Linked DNA regions of Homo sapiens: region 1 is linked to region 2. The links are contacts of gene promoters, found by promoter capture Hi-C in human tissues and cell types (Jung and others, 2019). All regions are on one chromosome and are shown on one strand. The core of a region is centred on a gene start or on the middle of the fragment in contact, and the rest is flanking DNA. Distances in the headings are between cores, read along the strand shown. Region 1 has its middle 130 kb from the start of THORLNC. Region 2 holds the start of TMEM177 (transmembrane protein 177).

What was found. The method cuts DNA at HindIII sites, captures the fragments that hold promoters and counts their contacts. A contact is called where the count stands out against the background at its distance.
Region 1: a contact is called between a fragment that was not itself captured here and the fragment with the promoter of TMEM177 in region 2, in 1 of the 25 tissues and cell types used here (lymphoblastoid cells).

Annotation. Positions count from the first base shown.
Region 1 is chr2:118,316,735-118,320,077 of GRCh38, reverse strand. No RefSeq gene overlaps it. Among named protein-coding and RNA genes, the nearest start is that of THORLNC, 130 kb to the right of the region's middle. The HindIII fragment of the contact is 7,555 bases long and covers 1-3,343 here.
Region 2 is chr2:119,677,158-119,680,812 of GRCh38, reverse strand. TMEM177 (transmembrane protein 177) reads right to left here and starts at 1,612. Exons shown (of 2, transcript NM_030577.3): 1 at 1,537-1,612. RefSeq lists a silencer at 1,536-1,765. The HindIII fragment of the contact is 8,254 bases long and covers 1-3,655 here.

The sequences.
Region 1 (3,343 bases), core at 411-2,910, 1.4 Mb after region 2:
AGCCTTCCTGAGTTCCTTCCAGCTTGGGGATACTATTTTTGCTAATGGCATTTTTAAGGGTCCAAACAGGCCATTTGCTTACATAAGAAATGCAATGGAAAGAGGCAACATCTTTTTTGTTGTCATTTTCTAGTTTGGCAAAACCACATCTTGGAAGTAAAGCAGAAATTTTGGAGGCAGTTTACCTAAGACCTCAAACCAAAATTTACAAACAGCTGGATAAATTCTTTAATGGGGCTGTATTTGTTCCTAAATAGTTGGCAACAGGAAGTATAATTTTCTTAAATTCATCCCTAACAAGCATTGACTCTTCCACCTTCTCTCTGTCCTACGTGGGACCTCCCACTTCTCCCTGCCCATCTCAAACCCTAATAAACAAATCCCTCTCTTACGCCATCAGCCTCAGAGAAACGTGAAGGAGTTTTTCTTGAGTTGAGTTCACAGCTGCCCTCTCAGGGCCACTGTAGTGTGCTGGGAGACCTGGAAACCTGGTGGGCAGAGAAACCAAAGTGGGAGGAGATTAGGGTTGGGTTGGAATGTGGGGGTGGGGGGAATTTGAGCAAGAACTTTGAATCTGAGAAGTCAGAGCCCAGGGTGCTGCCTGGAATTCCAAAATGGGGAAAGAGATCTCAGCTGCTTTCATATGGAAATTGGCCTGGAAGCTGACTTTGTCCCTGCTTGGAACCGAAGCCAAGACCAAGTTCAGTGAACCTAACACACCGTTCAATCAACCATTGAAACCCAGGAGAAGAGAAGGCAGGAAAGGGAGGGCAGAGGGTCAAAGAGGCTCGCCTTTCATTTGGACTTGGTTCCGGAGGTAACAGTAAGGAGGAATTAAACACTGGAAACAACTTGAAGGCAAAATCCCATCTATCAGGAAGGTGCATTCTGCCTGGCTTTAAATGAAAGAAAAGAAGGGGAAAGAAGAAGGAAATTGAAAAAGAAAGCAAGAAAGCAAGCAAGAAGGAAAAAAGAGAGAAAGATGTAGACAATGACAATCACTCAAAGCAATGATTCTGCAATTGACAAAATAAATGCAAATACATACACTGGGTGTAACTTAAAGAAGGAAAGAACTGACCTATAGTTGGCAAAGATTCCCCCCTCCCCACCCTCTTAGATAAAGGTTTTCAGAGACCTGAAGATTCTTAAAGCAGATACTAACTGGACTTCTGAAAGTTTACTTTAGGACTCGCTTTAACTTTGTTTTGTTTTTATTGCAGCTTGAAAAGAAAGTTGAAGAAGTACCTACTCTTTGCAAAAAGAAGCTACTATAGTTTCTTCCTAGATACTGTTTTGGGGACTAGTTTCTTGTCTTTTGTCCTTGATTTATTATTGCCTTTATGTGTTCTCCCCATTTGGTTCATTTTATTCTTATTTTAAAAGAACAGCTCCAAAGACCCTTCTATTTTCATGGAAATTGCTCAGTAGTAACAATTTCAGATAGCTTCCAAAAGAATAATCATCACACTGGCCATTTTACCCAAGAAGCTTTGCAGCATTTCACATAACAATTTACTAATTAATGACAAATTAAATGGAATCTGGTAAGAAGAATCAGAGGTTAGAGTGCTGGTATATATTGTGTGTAAAAAGGTATGCAAATATCTTCAGCCCATTTGTGGTTCATCAGTGGGAAATAATAGCTATTCTACTCGACAATTTCACATGCAGGAGGGCTGCCGCATAGAAGCAGAATTTGGAAATTATACATCATTTTAACTTTTTAACAGTTTTTCAGATTAGATACTGTTCCTTCATTTTAAAGGCACAATGAACTTAATCTTTTTTGTTTTAGTAGATGTAAAATCATGGAAATTCTACTATACTTTGCTGCTTATATTAATTACATATTTGCAAGCAAGAAGCAGTCTTTGGAAATTAGTGACTAAAGTTTTCATCTTTCACAGGAGAAAAAAAGTACTGACTCCAGTCTCCTGAAGCAAGCACTGGAAAACCATAGCCCACAGGCCAAATCTAGCCCTCTTCCTGTTTTTGTAAATAAAGTTTTATTGGAGCACAGCCACATTCATCTATCTACATAATGTCTATGGCTACTTATAAACTGCTATGGCAGAGTTGCAAGAAAAATCTCCTGGCCCACAAAGCCTAAAATATTTACGATCTGTTCCTTTACAAAAGGTTTGCCAATCTCTGCCCTAGAGGGTAAAGCTAGGGAGAGAACATTTATCATAAAGACAAAATAAAAGGTTTTAACTTATAAAATATCAAAATTAATTTAATGTGTCCTGTCACTACTTAAAGCCCACAAATGGTCACCGTCACTCCAGCTGTCACAGAAATTTGCCAAATGTTCTTTTCTTGCTCAGTGCACATGTAAGGGAAGTGCATTCTCTGTGCCCCAGTTCTTCTGTAGCCCGTTGAACAGGCTGGTCACCTCAGGGAAACACTGGTCATCCTTAATAAGAAAAGGCCTTGCAAAGAGTGAAATGTGTCTGCCATCCGTGGAAGTTCTAGGACAACACAGAAGGGTTCCCATGTCAAATAGGTGATTGCTTTGGACACATGTCAATTAATTTATTTTTACTGCTTTTAACTTTGAGAGTAAGACAAAATATCGTACCTGTCTTTATTATTCATCTTTAACTTATCTTCTTTTCAAAATATTAATACTCAAAAGGTATTTGGGGTCACAAAAATGTCTTATTACATTTAGAACATCCCCCCCTTGGATATAGGATGCTACACCCACACATTCATTCAACTTCTGAACATTCTATTTGTGTTGAGGGCACAGGGACACAGCCCAATACAAAACATTTCTTGCATGCCCACAACTTGGTATTATTACCAACAGCACCTGTCAGATCACAGCCAAACATGAGCTTAAAGCGACAAAATTGGTAAGTCAACTTGACGAAACATTATTATTTCTCCCGGTCAGTAGGTTGATAAGCATCTGAATTGGCTAGCTGCTCCAGCAAAATCTGTCTCTCAGCACAGTGTCAACCTCTTTCTCCTGCAGCTTCTAGTCTCTAAAATACCTCTGTGTGAGCCGGGTGCAGCAGCTCACACATGTAATCCCAGCACTTTGGGAGGTTGAAGCTGACAGATGACTTGAGGCCAGGAGTTCAAGACCAGCCAAGCCAGCATGACAAAACCCCATCTCTACTAAAAATATGAAAATTAGCAGGGTATGGTAGTGATGGCGCATGCCTGAAATTGCAGCTACCAGGGAGGCTGAGGCACGAGCATTGCTTGAACCCAGGAGGTGGAGGTTGCAGTGCAACTCCACTGCCACTGCACTCCAGCCTGGGCAACAAAGTAAGACTCAGTCCCAAAAACAGACCAAAACAAAACAAAATCTGTGTGCATTGTAGAA
Region 2 (3,655 bases), core at 363-2,862:
AGTCAGCCAGTTTCCCTGGGTCAGCCTGCAGACTGAACATCCTCCAGGGTCCACACCACCTTTTTAAACCAAAGTAACACAGCATAGTGGTGAAGAGTGTGGGCTCTAGAGCCAGAGTGCCTGTGTTCAAATCCCAGCTCCGTCTCTGTGCGTCAATTTCCCCATGTGCCAAACAGGTGTGTCGTAATGGCCCACCTCTAGGGTGGCGGTGATGAGCACATGAATAAACATACATAAAACATTTAGTGTCTGGCACAGCAGCAGATATTCCTTATAATAATGGCTGTAATGACTTTTATTCCCATCGCTGGGCACGGCACTCCAACTGCCTCATTCCACTCATCCCATGGTAAAGCCCTATGATTACTAATTTATAAGGAAAAACGTGTTCAATTTATTGAGTGCTTACTATATGCTAGACTCAGTTCTGAGCACTCTTACCGATTGAACCCTCACAACCCCATGACCTAATTACTACAGCTAACCCTATTTCAAAGCTGTGAAAACTTAAATGGCCAAAATCCTAAGCTAGTGAAGTGACAGTGTTATGGGCTGCACTGTGTCTCCTCCTCCTCCCCAGTTCATATATTTAAGTCCTAACCCCCAGTACCTCAGACTGTGGCTGTATTTGGAGACAGGGTCTTTAAGGAGATAATTAAGATAAAATGAGGCCATCAGTATGGATCCTAATCCAATTTGACTGGTGTACTTATAAGAAGAGATTAGGATGCAAACAGGCACAGCAGGAAGATCATGTGAGGATCCAGGGAAAAGGCTACCACCTACAAGCCAAGAAGGGAGGTCTCAGAAGACACCAACCCTGTTAACACCCTGGTCTTGAACTTCCAGCCTCCATAACTCCCAGAGGACAAATTTCTGCTGGTTGGGCCACCCAGTCTCCGGTACTTCGGCATGGCAGCTCTAGCAAGCTAACACAGGCATAGTCAGGTGTCCACAGCAAACTTTTTGTTTTAGAAAACTTGTTATGCCAAATTACAAGCATATACCAAAGTAGACAAAATAGTACATCCATCAACTTCAATCCCATCAACTCATGGCCAATCTTGTTTGATTTCTCTTTCCACCACACTTCCGTCCAACTGGTTTATTTTGAAACATCCCCGGGCATCCTATCACTTCATCCGTGAATACGTCAGTAAAAATTCACAATTATTTCACTTTGATTGAAACTTACTGTATTCCTGTCCGTGAAAAGTGCTTAATGAGCAACGAATGAGTTGCCGCAAACAAAAACGCAGGGTACCGCTTGGCCTATCTTAATCAAGAACTCCTATAAGAATCATTATCATTCGGGCTTTTTTTTTTTCCCAATGCGGAAAGTGAGGCTAAGAAAGGAAAGGTCTGGACCAAAGTCCAACGTCCCTAGGGCCATCGCGCTGCGGGGTGGGCCTAGAACACAGTACCATGCAGCCCGCCGGTGGCTGGGGGAGGAGGGGCTGCAGGAGCCCCGCAGAGGGGTCCTCGCTACGCTTCCACTCTGGGCCCCTAGGCTACTCCGCAGTCTGAACGCGTTACCGGGTCGCATCAGGCCGGAGAAGGGTCCCTCCCGCTCGTCCGTGCGCTCACCTCCGCCGCCGCTCGGAACGCCTACATGTGCGCGCGGCAGGGCGGCCGCAAAGCACGCCGGCCGGGGATCTGGGGGCGGGGACTTCGGGAGGCGGAGCTCGCCGGCCCCGGATCTTGGGATGGGGACTTCAGGGGGCGGAGCTCGCCGGCCGGAGATCTCGGGGCGAGGATTTCAGGGAGGGGAGCTCGCTCGACGGGTCTGGGGGCGGGACTCTTGGGGGTGTGGCTGGGGGGGCCTCAAGGGGATGTCCGTGGGGGGCTCCGGCCGCCGCAGAGGCTCCTTCTCTAACTGTGCACCTTGGGGTGGGTCCGCTAGCACTTCCTCCTCTGCGTTGAAATGCGTCTTTGATTAATACAAAAATTAGCTGGGCGTGGTGGCGCACGCCTGTAGTCCCCAGCTGCTGGGGAGGCTGAGGCAGGAGAATCGCTTGAACCTGGGAGGCAGAGGTTGCAGTGAGCCGAGAATACGCCACTGCACTCCAACCTGGGCGACAGAGCGAGACTCCGTCACACACACACACACACACACACACCCCGGTGTCTTTGATCATGCCACACACACACACACACACACCCCGGTGTCTTTGATCATGCCACACACACACACACACACACACATACCCTGGTGTCTTTGATCATGACACACACACACACACACACCCACCCCGGTGTCTTTGATCATCACACACACACACACACACACACACACACATCCCGGTGTCTTTGATCATGCCGTTGAACCCCCGAAGGAACGGCAGCCCCGCGTGGGTCACCAGGCGGCCTATGGCAGGGCCCCCATCAGAACCCATGCCCATCTGACTGGCCGGCCCGTGTACTTCTCCGTCTGGAAGCGCTCACCCTTGGCGGGGAGCTCTGAGCTTTATGTTTATTACCATGTTCGCTGCCCCCCAAGCTCCTCCCAGGTGCTTCACACTGTACAGTCCACAGAGCAGCGTGCCATCTGTCATTTCTCCTTTCCAGCTGCTCTGTGAGGTAGATGAGGGATCATCTAATCTGTGCACCAAATCCAGCTCTCCACCTGCTTTTGTAAATAAAGTTTTCTTGGAACACAGCCATGCCCAATCCTTTACAGAGGGTGAAAACAGACTGCCTAGGGTTAAAGCCGGGCTCCACCCCTTACTAGCTGTGTGATAAAATGAGTTGGTGTATATGTAACCTGTGCCTCACGGTTTGTGCCGCCTAGCCATTAGCTATTATTATTAAAGTCTGTTCTGTTTCTGAGCCCCCCCCCCCAATTTTGGCTGCTCAGTTGTTTGTATGTAAATAGTGCAATGTGACCTCAGCCAAAGCCAGAATGTGGGACATTCTACAGGGCAAATGACGTGGTTTATCCAACAAATCAATGGCATAAACAGGGAAGGAGGGGGACTCAAAAGAAAAGAGACTTGAGAGTCATTGCAGTTAAATGCAATATGTGACTTTTATTGGGATCCTGAACCAAATAAACTAACTGTAAAAAAGACACCTTGGGCTGGGCGCGGTGGCTTACGCCTGTAATCCTGGCACTTTGGGAGGCCAAGGAGGGCAGATCACCTGAGGTCAGGAGTTCAAGACCAGCCTGGCCAACATGGTGAAACTCCGTCTCTACTAAAATACAAAAATTAGCCAGGCATGGTGGCACACGCCTATAATCCTAGCTATTCAGGAGGCTGAGACGGGAGAATCGCTAAAACCTGGGAGATGGTGGTTGCAGTAAGCCGAGATTGTGCCACTGCACTCCAGCCTGGGTGGCTAAGTGAGACTCTGTCTCAAACAAACAAAGGAACAAACAAACAAACAAAAGGCATCTTGGAGAAATTTGAATTTGGATTTGAATATTAGATGATATTAATGAATTATTGCTTATTTCATCAGATGGGATGATGACATGGAGTTTATATAAACCAAAAAATTCTTACTAGAGATGCATACTGAAGTGTTTACAGGTGAAATGACACAATGTCTACTATTTGATTCAAAATATTCCAACGAAACCAAATCCAAACAACAACAACAACAAAAAAACAGGGGCACAGATGAAACAACATTGACAAAGTGTTAGTTATTG